Regions from separate parts of the Homo sapiens genome. Here region 2 is linked to region 1. The links are contacts of gene promoters, found by promoter capture Hi-C in human tissues and cell types (Jung and others, 2019). All regions are on one chromosome and are shown on one strand. The core of a region is centred on a gene start or on the middle of the fragment in contact, and the rest is flanking DNA. Distances in the headings are between cores, read along the strand shown.

Evidence for each region. Contacts are between HindIII fragments. The study calls those that stand out against the background at their distance.
Region 2: a fragment that was not itself captured here is called in contact with the fragment with the promoter of BATF2 in region 1 in 1 of the 25 tissues and cell types used here (lymphoblastoid cells).

The regions. Positions count from the first base shown.
Region 1 is chr11:64,994,214-65,000,818 of GRCh38, reverse strand. BATF2 (basic leucine zipper ATF-like transcription factor 2) reads left to right here and starts at 3,848. Exons shown (of 3, transcript NM_138456.4): 1 at 3,848-3,943; 2 at 6,270-6,371. The coding sequence starts at 3,905. RefSeq lists a cis regulatory region at 1,566-2,704 and an enhancer at 3,949-4,449. The HindIII fragment of the contact is 29,477 bases long and covers 1-6,605 here.
Region 2 is chr11:64,944,329-64,950,933 of GRCh38, reverse strand. MAJIN (membrane anchored junction protein) reads left to right here. Exons shown (of 11, transcript NM_001037225.3): 5 at 504-579; 6 at 1,066-1,191; 7 at 3,115-3,146; 8 at 3,469-3,560. Among named protein-coding and RNA genes, the nearest start is that of GPHA2, 12 kb to the right of the region's middle. The HindIII fragment of the contact is 4,017 bases long and covers 1,967-5,983 here.

The DNA.
Region 1 (6,605 bases), core at 2,599-5,098:
GACTTAACTGTGGGCTGTGCACTGTTCTAAGCCCTTTACATAAATTACTTAAATCCTTCTATTATTATCCCCATTGGCCAGGCACGGTGGCTCACGCCTATAATCCCAGCACTTTGGGAGGCCAAGGCTGGCGGATCACCTAAGGTTGAGACCAGCCAGGCCAACATGGTGAAACCCCGTCTCTACTAAAAATGCAAAAATTAGCTGGGCATGGTGGCACACACCTGTAATCCCAGCTACTTGGGAGGCTGAGGCAGGAGAATCACTTGAACCTGGGAGGCGGAGGTTGCAGTGAGCCGAGATCGCACCACCGCACTCCAGCCTGGGAGACAGAGCAAGACTCTGTCTCAAAACAAAAAACAAAAAACAGGCCGCGTGCAATGGCTCACGCCTGTAATCCCAGCACTTTGGGAGGCTGAGGCTGGCAGATCACTTGAGGTCAGGAGTTCGAGATCAGCCTGGCCAACATGGTGAAACCCCATCTCTACTAAAAATACAAAAAATTAGGTGGGTGTGGTGGCGTACACCTGTAATTCCAGCTACTTGGGAGGCTGAGGCAGGTGAATCACTGGAACCCTGGAGACAGAGGTTGCAGTGAGCCAAGATTGTGCCACTGTACTCTAGCCTGGGTGACAGAGTGGGACTCCGTCTCAAAAAAAAAAAAAAAAAGGGACAGGGCTTCAGGGCATTCTGGCTTCTCCCAAAACAGTGGTGTGACTTTCTCTTCCCTATAATTCAGTTTATTCATTGGTGAAATGATGAAGTTGGTTGGGGGGAGCCCACCAGGAACCCAGGGCAGGTCCTATGGGAATGAGTGAAAAGTTTCTTTCCTCAGGAAAGTTTTGGGGTTCCTGGGTGGCAAGCTGCCTGCTGGACTTTAATTAATTAATTCATTAATTGAGCATCTATTACGTGAAGGCAGTGTTTGAAGCACTGGGGATCCTTCAAAGAACCAGTCCTGCCATGTAGGAGCTCATTGGTAGCTGTGGTATTTGGGAGGCCTCCAACCCTCCACCCACTGGGGCTGCTGGCTCTGGACTAATGGACCAGGCCTTTCCAAGCAGAGTGTGGAGCAGGACTGAGGCCTAGAAGAGAGAGGTTGTGTTCTCCCTGCAGCTCTGCCCCTCCCGTGGAGTGACCTTGCCCCTCTGGGCATTAGTTTCCTCACCCTCTTTTATGAACTGAAAGTTTGTGTTCCCCCCCCAAACTCACACACTGAAGTGCCAACCCTTGGTAAGATGGTATTTGGAGGTGGGGCCTTCAGGAGGTAATTAGGCTTAGATAAGGTTGTGAGGGTGGGACCCTACAATGGGATGAGTGTCTTTATAAGAAGGCAGAGAGACCGTGTGAGAATACGGCAAGAGTGCCACCATCTTCCAGCCAGGAAGAGGCCTTGCCAGGAGCCAAACCTACCAGCACCTTGCTCTTGGATTTCTCAGCCCTCAGAACTGCGAGAAATAAAAGGCTGTCATTAAGCCACTCAGTTTCTGGTATTGCATTATAGCAGCCTGAGCTGACTGAGACACCGTCTAAGGCGAGGTCAGATTGGATGGTCCCACCAGCCTGGGAGAAGTCTCCCACAGCCATTCCTAGTTAAACATTACCCACCCTACCTCCCTCCCTCCCTGCCACTCCCTCTCCCAGCTGCCTCCTCAGGGAGCCATAAACGCTGCCTTCTTTGGTCTTCTCCCAGGGCTGTGGTGTTCTGGGAAGAGCTACACCTGCTGTCTCACCTCTGCCAGAAGCCAGGGTCTGGAGAAGAAAGACTGGGGGTCTGGGGCAGGGGCTGGGATCTGGAGTGGGACACTCAGGCCTAGCCCCTCCACACACACACACACACACACAAGCACACACGGGTGTTTCTTCGTAGTCACATCATGCACAAGGTGCCTGCAGATCCTCCCAGGGGAGCTCATGGGCTGGCTTAATGAGCCCTTCAGGTGCCTGCCTCAGGCAAGACGCCCCAGCCTTCCTGGTTTCCAGGAAACAATAATTCAGAGAAACAGGGATGGCCTCACTGCGTGGGGCATCCCACTTCCGCCTCTGCTCCCAGGCCCCTCAGAAGCTAGGAGGGCAAGGCCCAGCTCTTATGCCCAATCTCACCCACCCAGGCATTTTAAATTAGGAGCCTGCATTAATAATCTTAGAATCCAGAATATGACACCACAAATTTCAGGAGGGGGAATCCTTGCCACATAGTACTTTACAATATCCCAAGAGCTTTCTTCTCATCTCATTCTTTCCCATCTTCAAAACAACTGTCAAATAGGTATCATTTCTTTGTGATCACCAGCATATCTTTGAAGACACTGAGGCTCCAGGTGATAAACTGGGTGAGTGGAGTGCCAGGATGGAGAGTCAAGTCTTTTGTCTCTGAAACCCAGACTTGTTTTATGCCTGGTTCTAGGGATAGCAGGGGACTGCACTCTCCACACCTCTGCCCATAACAGGCATCACTAATCGATCATGGTGTGGCAGACATTGCTAATCAACTGCAGTACTCTTTTTTACTAAGCTCAGAGGTGTCCATGAACTCTTTAAAACAACATTCCAGCCACCATCACCTATCAGAAGATCATATCTGTATTTGCCATTCTTGTGATACCACATCATCAGCCATGAGCCCTCAGGTCTCAGGTACAACTCCAAGATGCTCTAGTCACCAGACCATAGGACTCTACATACTGCATGCATGCTGTTCTTGGACAGGAATTACTGGCCCCTCTGGCCCCCAAACAGATGCCCCATCCAAGTGTCCCTCTTAGAGATACAACAAGCATGCAGGTATGCCCGGGGCTTCAGGGTTTGCTAGGTCTTTATTTTTTAATTTTTAATTAATTAATTTTTTTGAAACAAGGTCTTGCTCTATTGCCCAGGCTGGAGTGCAGTGGCAAGATTATAGCTCACTGCAGCCTTGAACTCCTGGGCTCAAGTGATCCTCTCATCTCAGCCTCCTGAGTAACTGGGAATACAGGTGTGTGCCACCATGCCCAGTTATTTTTTTTATTTTTAATATAGATAAGGTCTTGCTATGTTGCCCAGGCTGGTCTCAAACTCCTGAGCTCAAGTAATCCTCCTGCCTTGGCCTCCCAGAGTACTTGGATTACAGGCATGAACCACTGCATCTGGCCTAACAAAATTGTTTTTATCCCCACTTTACAGATTTGGAAACAGAAACACAGATGAAATTACGAACCCAAGTCACATAGCTTGGAAGCTGGGCTCCTAACCACTGGACATCAATCTTTCCACTGCTTCATGGTCTGTTGTATGAAAACAGTAATGTATCCATCTGTTCTATCCAACAGCCATTGCTTAATTTTGCAGACATGCTTCCATAGTGGTCTCAGAAGGTTTGGGGGTGGTTGTATTATCTGGCTTAGTTCCTGCAATGAGCCTGGGAGTGGGTAGTTGTACCATCCTCCAGATGAGAAAACTAGGGCTCAGAGAAGGAGAGTCACTTTCTGAAAGTTGGACAGCTCCAATGTGTGCTGTGATCCAGAGTTCCCCCAATTCCAGAGCTCAAGGGCTCTCTCTACCCCACATGAGCATCGGTCCCCACTGGCTTCTTCTCTCATCTCAGTCCCTGGCCGCCTGTCCTCCCTCCCCTAGAACACCCTCCTCATACCTGGCCTTTGGTCTTCCCTCCTCTCCACCCTCCACCATCCTCTTTCCAGAGAAGGGGCCCAACCGGAAGGCCAGTTCATGTTAGGAAATTCTAGCCACGTGAGCAAGCCTGAGCCAGGGATTCTGAGCAGCTGGTGGCTTTAGGAGAAACTGAAACTTGGCCCTCTGGGGGCGGAGTGGCCACTGGGGATTTAAAGAGCTGCCACTTCCTTAGGCCTCCAGAGGGCACTGGGAAGTCACAGCTGCTGAGGGACCACTCTGCTCCCCCGCCTAAGCCATGCACCTCTGTGGGGGCAATGGGCTGCTGACCCAGACAGTGAGTACAGGGGATTGGGGATCGGGGATGAGAAGGGGAGCTGGGATCCCGTCCTCAGTGCCCAGGCAGTGAGGGCTGCAGTCGGGAGCTCCTAGTCCCAGCTCTATACTCTGAGCAGTGTGACAGAGGGCTCTGCATGCCCCTCTCTGGGTCTCACTTTCCTCCCCCGAAGTCGGGATTGGATTGGAATGAGTTGTTTCCAGCTCTCACATTGCAGATCCAGCCTTCGGTTTAGAACTTGGCCTCTGTGTACTTGCTCTCTCCTAACGTACCTGGTCCCCCCTCACTACACTCACAGCAGCCTTTCCTTCCTTCTCCAAATAACCCAGGCCGGCTCATGCCTGTAATCCCAGCCCCTTGGGAGTCTGAGGCCGGCAGATAACATGAGGTTAGGAGTTCAAGATCAGCCTGGCCAACATGGCGAAACCCCGTCTCTACTAGAAATACAAAAATTAGCCAGGTGTGGCAGGGCACGTCTGTAGTCTCAGCTACTCGAGAGGCTGAGGCAGGAAAGTTGCTTGAACCCGGGAGATGGAGGTTGCAGTAAGCTGAGCTCATGTCACTGCACTCCAGCCTGGGTGACAGAGAGAGACTCTGTCTCAATAAAATAAAATAGGCCGGGCTCAGTGGCTCACACCTGTAATCCCAGCACTTTGGGAGGCTGAGGCGGGCAGATCACCTGAGGTCAGGAGATCGAGACCATCCTGGCCAACATGGTGAAACCCCGTCTCTATTAAAAATAGAAAAATTAGCTGGGCGTGGTGGAGGCACATGCCTGTAATCCCAGCTTCTCAGGAGGCTGAGGCAGGAGAATCACTTGAACCTGGGAGGCGGAGGTCGCAGTGAGCCAAGATCACGCCACTGCACTCCAGCCTGGGCGACAGAGACTCTGTCTCAATAAAATAAAATAAAATAAAATAAAGTAAAATAATAAATAAATTCCCTGGGCCATGGTTTCCCTTGGAGGCTCTGCTTATCTCACAGGAGCCCCCTTCACTCACCGTGGGTCCTGTCTCAGCCTTTAGTTTCTTGGTGCCCCAGTGTCTACAGTGAGCCCGCTGTGGACATGGCCCAAGGGAGCATATGGAGCAGGAGCCTAGGAGCATTCAGAATCTGCAGCCAGGGCGGCCAGGGCCTTGCCTGAGGTCCTTACCCTCAAAACACATACCCCAGAGAGACTTGGGGGCGGGGGCTGGGCTGTGAGCTCTCCAACAGTCCCTCTTGCTCTGACTTTGCAGAGCTCTGGACATTTGGGTAAAATATTTTATCTAAGTTTCATTGATCCCAGGGTACAAGGTGGTCACAACCTTTGAGTCCACTCTTCCACCGGAATAAACCCTTCATTCATTCATCCTTCGCTACCACCCCACTACAATGTGAGCAATTTCAGGGCAGGGATTTGTGTGTATTTTGTTTGCTATCATGTCCCTCTAGCTTACTGCCTGGAACATAGTAGGTGCTTATACATGTTTGTTGAGTAAGTGAATATCTGCTTTGGGCTTGAGCTGGGCATGAGCACAGAGAACCACATCTGCCCTCATGGAGCTCACAGTTAGGAAAGTTCACACCTTGGTGTGGAAATCATGGCAATGAGAAGAATGGAAGCTGAGCTTTATGGCACGCCGGCTCTGGGCTGCCTGCCGCATGGGCTTTAACCCTCTGCTGTGGTGCTTCCATTGCAGGGATGGGGCGATTGGGTTCAAGAATATGGGGCTCGGCTGGGCACGGTGGCTCACACCTGTAATCCCAGCACTTTGGGAGGCCGAGGCTGGTGAATCACCTGAGGTCAGGAGTTCAAGACCAGTTTGAGATGAGCCTGGCCAACATGAGGAAACCCCATCTCTACTAAAAATACAAAAATTGGCCAGGAATGGTGGCAGGTGCCTGTAGTCCCAGCTACTTGGGAGGCCGAGGCAGGAGAATTGCTTGAACCCGGGAGTCAGAGTTTGCAGTGAGCCAAGATAGAGCCGCTGCACTACTCCAGCCTGGGCAACAGAGTGAGACTCTGTCTCAAAAAAAAAGGAAAAAAGAATGTGGGGTTTGAAGTTGGCTCTGTCTGAGTTTGAATCTCAGGCTTCCCATCTTCCCTGCTTGCCCTCCCACCCTCCACATGAGCGGTGAGCAGGACACAGGGGTGAGGCTGGCGTTCCAACAAGGTGTGCAGTGCCTGCTATAGGGGGTGTGGGTGCCAAGGGAGCTTCTGGGAGATAAAAGACCCTTGGGAACTTGACTCAAGGGGAAAGACTTGGCTTTACAAATGGCGGGCCAGGACGGAGGGCACAAGGCCTGGCTGGGCCCCCTGAGTCCTCTGCCTCATGCCCCACAGGACCCCAAGGAGCAACAAAGGCAGCTGAAGAAGCAGAAGAACCGGGCAGCCGCCCAGCGAAGCCGGCAGAAGCACACAGACAAGGCAGACGCCCTGCACCAGGTGTGGACAACCCCTAACCCCTTTCCTTGTCTCTGGCTCCACTTACTGGCCCAGCCACCTCTTCTCCATCCCACCTTTGAGCAGACCTCCCCCAAACTCCTGTATTTTTCTAGGTCACCTGAGTTTGGGATGAGAAAAGGATCCTGTGGCTGACATTTGGAAAGTTCTGGGTGTTGAGTACAAACCATGTGCCAGGTACACACCAGGCTCCAGGGACACAAAGGGTCATCCTCA
Region 2 (6,605 bases), core at 2,726-5,225, 50 kb after region 1:
TTTCAGGAAGAGAAATTCCCTTTCTATGCAAAAGCATAGAAATGGAGAAGCGGGCTGGGTGCAGTGGCTCATGCCTGTAATCCCAGCACTTTGGGAGACCGAGGAGGGCAGAGCACTTGAGCCCAGGAGTTCAAGACCATCCTGGGCAACATGGTGAAACCACATCTCTACAAAAAATAAAAAAATTAGATGGGTGTGGTGGTGCACGCCTGTAGTCCCAGTTACTGGGGAGGCTGAGGTGGGAAGATCACTTGAGCCCAGGAGGCAGAGATTGCAGTGAGCAGAGATCATGCAACTGCCCTTCAGCCTGGGCCACAAAGCACGACTCTCTCAAAAAAAGAAAGAAAGAAAGAAAAAGAAATGGAGAATCAGAACACGTGTTAAAGGAACAGCAAATAGTTCAGTTTTGATAGTGTATAGGGTATGTGAGTAGCAGTGACAAATATAAACAAAGACTGGCTGAGACTCAACAGTGTTAAAGTCATTTCAAATATGTTTTTCAGGATTCTGTCCGCGTGGTCTTGGGAAACTTGGACAATCTTCAGCCCTTTGCTACAGAACACTTCATTGTATTTCCCTGTATCCTTTTTTTTTTTTTTTTTTTGAGATGGAGTCTTGCTCTGTCACCCAGGCTGGAGTGCAATGGCATGATCTTGGCTCACTGCAACCTCAGCCTCCCAGGTTCAAGCGATTCTCTTGCCTCAGCCTCTCCAGTAGCTGGGATTACAGGCACATGCCACCACACCCGGCTAATTTTGGTATTTTTAGTAGAGGCGCTATTTCACCATGTTGGCCAGGCTGGTCTTGAACTCCTGACCTCAGGTGATCCACCCGCCTCGGCCTCCCAAAGTGCTGGGATTACAGCCATGAGCCACTGCGCCCAGCCTATCCTTTCTTTTCTGGCTGGAAATGAGCTACAGCTCACATTTTAGACTCAAATGGACGTAGCAAAACCATAGGCAGTTTGGAGGGTAGGTCAGGGGAAGGAGAGAGAGTCTCATCCCTAAAATAGTACTTAGGAATGCATACTGGCATCTTTCCTTACTCCTTAGCACCATTTTCCAGATAAAAGCAAATGGGAGAGAGTTTCCCACCTGAAATTCAAACATGGGGAAATTATCTTGATCCCCTACCCATTTGTTTTTACTCTATATGTGGAGATGAAATGGTTCCATGAAAACCTGTCACCTGGTAAGTGGAATGATGTGAATGTGGATGGCAGAGAAGAAAATGGTTTAGCTGTGCCAGCTAGGTATCGCGAAAGGGGCTACCAGATTAGGCTCCAGCCATACAGTGCACAGGTCAGGATCATGTGCTCCAGGCCAGACTGACCGGTTCAAATACTGGTGGTCCTGCCACTTAATGGCTGTGTGAAGTTAGATAAATTAATCTTTCTATGCCTCCCTTGTGAAATGGTGAAGAATAATATTACTACCTATATCATTGAGTTGTTAAAAGGATTAAATAGTAGTAGATGAAAAGTACAAAGCCTGACTTAATCACTGAATGAAAGATAACTATTATATAAACCCTTCCATTAGAGAGAATTCTATGATTTTCACTTTAGAGCTATCTTAAAGGTATCTCCCAATTTTATTTTTATTTAGACAGGGTCTCACTCTGTCACCCAGGCTGGAGTACAGTGGTGTGATCATAGTTCACTGTAACCTCTAACTCCTGGGCTCAAGTGATCCTCCTGCCTCAGCTTCCCAAGTAGCTAGGACTATAGGTGTGTGCGACCATCCCCGGCTAATTTTTTTTTTTTTTTTTTTAGTAGAGACAGGGGTCTGACTATATTGCACCGTTGGGTCTCAAACTCCTGGGCTCAAGCGATCCTCCCACCTCGGCCTCCCAAAACACTGGGATTACAGGCATGAGCCACTGTGCCTAGCCCAAATTTTTATTCTCTGAAGGCCATGGGTGTTTTTGTTGATTGAGGGACAAGTAAACACCTACCCTTTTGATTTGAAAAGGGGTGCAGGCTGGGCATGGTGGCTTATGCCTGTAATCCCAGTACTTTGGGAGGCCGAGGCAAGAGGATCACTTGAGGCCAGGAGTTCAAGACCAGCCTGACCAACGTGGTGAAACCCCATTTCTACTAAAAATAAATTTAGCCAGGCGTGGTGGTGTGCGCCTCTAATCCCAGCTACTCAGGAAGCTGAAACAGAAGAATCGCTTGAACCCGGGAGGCAGAGATTGCAGTGAGCTGAGATCACGCCCCTGCACTCCAGCCTGGGCGGCAGAGCAAGATGCCATCTGAAAAAAAAAAAAAAAAAAAAAAAAAAAAAAAAAAATATATATATATATATATATATATATATATATATATATGATGTAGCCCGACATGGTGGTGGTGCATGCCTGTAGTCCCAGCTACTCTGGAGGCTGAGGGAGGAGAATTGCTTGAACCTGGGAGGCAGAGGTTCTGGTGAGCCAAGATCACACCACTGCACTTCTGCCTGGGCAACAGAGCTAGCTCTGTCTCAAAAAAGAAAGAAAAGAAAAGGGGTGCAAAGGCCTTGCCTCAAAATATCTCCCCTTTTCATTTGTCACAGGTAGCTGAAGTTCTACCTTTTTTCTTTTTTAGTAAGGATCGTCCCCTCCCTTTTCAAACCCTTTCTAGCTTGTAGATTACAATCATTCTGAAACAGGGGAGGAAGAGAGTTTGAAGACACTATTTTTAGGGAAAATAGTACCAGGTAGAAGGGAGAAGGGCACATGAGGAGTCTTTGTCTGGGGTCAGTTCCAAGAAATAAATAGTAGCCAGAAGTCCAGGTAAAACAGCATCGTGGCTAGGCCTGGTGGCTCACTTTGGGAGGCCAAGGCAGGTGGATCACCTGAGGTCAGGAGTTTGAGACCAACCTGGCCAACGTGGTGAAACCCCTCTCTCTACTAAAAATACAAAAATTAGCCAGGTGTGGTGGCATGTGCCTGTAGTCCCAGCTACTCGGGAGGCTGAGGGAGGAGAATCGCTTGAACTCAAGAGGCGGAGGTTGCAGTGAGCCGAGATCGCACCACTGCACTCCAGTCTGGGTGACAGAGAGAGACTTAATCTCCAAAAAAAAAAAAAAAAAAGTCTTAAATCTATTATGACACTCAAATTTCCTATTGTAGGGAAACCAATAAGTGACAGTCCTCTTGGGTTGGTAAGTTTGCCTTTTCTGTACAAAATGAAAATTGCCTTTATCACCTTCTTTTTTCCAAAAAGTCCTGCTCTTGCCTCTTCCCCTTACTTTGCCCTCAGTTGCTGCCCAGGTCCAGTCAGAATTGTAAACATAAGACCATATTTTCCCCCTTGGCTAGATTTCTGAGACCATGTCTCTAACAGAATGTCTATTCTTACTTGCAAAGCTGGTGTTAAAAGTTGCCTTTGGCAGTTTAAGGATGGGGAGTTTTCTTCACTGTGCCTTCATGAACTGTGAGCAACTCTGGAAAGGAGGAGTCACAGGCATCTGCTTCCTCCTGAAGGTCCCAGTTGAGAAGAAAGCAGTAGGAGCTGTGATGAGGAAACGAAAACACATGGACGAGCCCAGCTCCCCCAGCAGGCCAGGGCTGGACAGGTCAGTGGTGTGGGGAGAGAGGCTCGCTCCTGCGTCCTAGTTAGGCTTTGCCAGCTATTACTGTTGGTTGATCCTGTCCTTGGGCGAGTCACTTTCTTTTGCAGGACTTCATCAGTATCTGCCTATTACAGTGGGTGGACTAAGGAAAGGGAGCAAGTTAATATTTACAATATAATTTGAACACAGTCCCTTTTTCAGCAAAGTACGATTTTTCTTTTCAAGATGAAGGCTAAGAAGAAATACAGTCCGATCTAAACAATTGAATTCAGCACATTCAATAATACTTACTATGTTAATATCACCAGAAGGCACAGGACTTATGAAGTCTCAGAATATTTACAAAAACATAGGGAAACTCTTGAAGGAGTAAGAACAAATAAAATATAATTCTATTTTACCCAGTGAGCAGTTAGCTTTTGGAACCTTAAGAGGCAGTCCAGACTAAAATATAAATGTTTGCAAGAGGGTATGTATCAATCATTGGGTGGGGTGCTGTGATATTAGGGGGAATGTTGAGTACATCCCTAACATATTTTTATTGTGGAGGCTACTTATGTTCTTCTTTCAATTCTCTATCAGGAACAAAATGAGTCAGTAAGACAATTCAGTCATTCTTATTAGCACCCTAGAAAGCTAATAAGAATGCTGCTGGAATAATCCAAGGTGTGGTTTGTTCCCTAGCCCAAGATGCTTCCACCCTAGGCCCACAGAGAACAGCTACCCTTTTCCTGGGACTCTGTGGACCCCTAGACATACAGGAGAAATAAGGTAGACCACTAGGAAGCTGACCCCATGCTCTCCAGATGCACATGTAGGTGAAGAGGTAGGGAGCTCCTTTCCAAGCCAGGTGGAATGTGAGGGTACTTGGAGGTATGAAGCTTTGCTTTGTTCCATTCGACTGAATTTTCCATGCAAATGAGGTCTCAGATCTTCCCTTTCTCTGGGTTTTGATGCACAGTCAAGTATTTCAAAATCTGATACCTGCTGTCAATCACATTTTCACTTTCTCAAACCCCAGATCCCTAAGTGTCTCAAACTGGGATTCTGCTGTGAAGTAAAGCAGCACCCAAAGAAAATTTGGCCACCCAATTTATTCTGCCAGCCAGGAGTAGTATAACAATAGCCAACCTGCTGAAATATTCATTTGGGCCACATTTGCTTGAATGTAGTGATATTGCCTCTGCCAGTAACATTTCCTGCATATTTTCCCCCCACCTCAGGGCCAAGATAGGGACTTCCAGCCAAGGCCCCAGCAAAAAGAAGCCCCCTGTGGAAACCAGGAGAGTAAGTACTAAAATGGAGCCTTAGTACTAAAATGGAGCCTTCAAGGCTATTAGCTATTCCTGTTCTGTTACAAGTCAGGATTCCGGTTACCAGCACATCTTGGTTTTTCGTGCAGATTGAATTGACTGAACTCATTCTTGGGTTTCACTGTCTGCAGAATAACATTCAACTATTATGCCCTTGCCACAACGCATCCCAAAGTGGCTGCATAATACACGCATCGATGAATTTTTTTGTTAAAAAGTCCTCTCTTTGCCTGGTACGGTGGCTCATGCCTGTAATCCCAGCATTTTGGGAGGCTGAGGCAGGCGGATCACCTGAAGTCAGGAGTTCAAGACCAGGCTGGCCAACCTGGTGAGACCCAGTCTCTACTAAAAATACAAAAAATTAGCCAAGTGTGGTGGTGGGCACCTGTAATCCCAGCTACTCGGGAGGCTGAGGCAGGAGAATCACTTGAACCCAGGAGGCGGAGGTTGCAGTGAGCTGAGTTCGTGCCACTGCACTCCAGCCTGGGCAACAGAGTGAGACTCCATCTTAAAAAAAAGAAATCCTCTCTTCTCAGCTTAAAAAGCTACCTGTACTCTGTAGTTGAAATAAGAAAATATGTCTGTATAGAATTGAGGTGGGATCCAGTATAGAATTTTCCCTTTAGGAAACTTTTTGCCTTCATCTACACTGGGGTCTGAGTCTAGGAACATCTAGTTTTTGTTTTTTTGTTTGTTTGTTTGTTTTGAGACACAGTCTCGCTCTGTCGCCCAGGCTGGAGTGCAGTGGTGCGATCTCGGCTCACTGCAAGCTCTGCCTCCTGGGTTCACGCCATTCTCCTGCCTCAGCCTCCCGAGTAGCTGGGACTACAGGCGTGTGCTACCACGCCTGGCTAATTTTTTGTATTTTTTAGTAGAGACGGGGTTTCACCGTGTTAGCCAGGATGGTCTCGATCTCCTGACCTCGTGATCCACCCGCCTCGGCCTCCCAAAGTGCTGGGATTACAGGCGTGAGCCACCGAGCCCAGCCGGAACATCTAGTTTTAACAAATGAGCTAGGCATGTATCAGCACTGATAACTGGTAAGAGAAAACTTCTAGAGCAGTGAAGGGCTGGCCCCTGATGGAATTAGATTTCATTTATGGGGTATGTTTCCCATTTAGATATTCATATATCTGATACCCCTCCTCCATTTCAGGACTTCTTTTCTATATATTCTCTAAAATAGTGACCTTTTTCTTTTCCTCCCCTCTTTAAATAGCTGTTAGCTGGTATCCATGCCTTAAAGATCCTTCCTTTTTTTCTCTATGTCTCCAAAGTTGCTGTGACCCTAAGTATCCAAACACAAACAACTCACTTTCTTCACCTTCCCAGGACTCATAACATGAGCAGTTATCGAGTAAACATTTACATGTGCATTCATTCAACAAATTTTTTTTTCATTTTTGAGACAGGGTCACACTCTGTTGCCCAGGCTGGAGTGCAGTGGTGCAATCTCAGCTCACTGCAACCTCCACCTCTCAAGCTCAAGTGATCCTCTCATTTCAGCCTCTGGAGTAGCTAGGACTACTGGCGTGTGTCATCACACCTGGCTAATTTTTGTATTTTTTGTAGAGATGGGGTTTTGCCATGTTGCCCAGAATGCATTCAACAAATTTTCATTGAGTGTCTACTATGTGCCAAGTACCAGGGATACACCAACAGTGTACAGTTAGGCAGACAATTACTGATAGATGTGCCATGTGCAGGGGTAGAAGGAAGCACAGGATACAAAGGG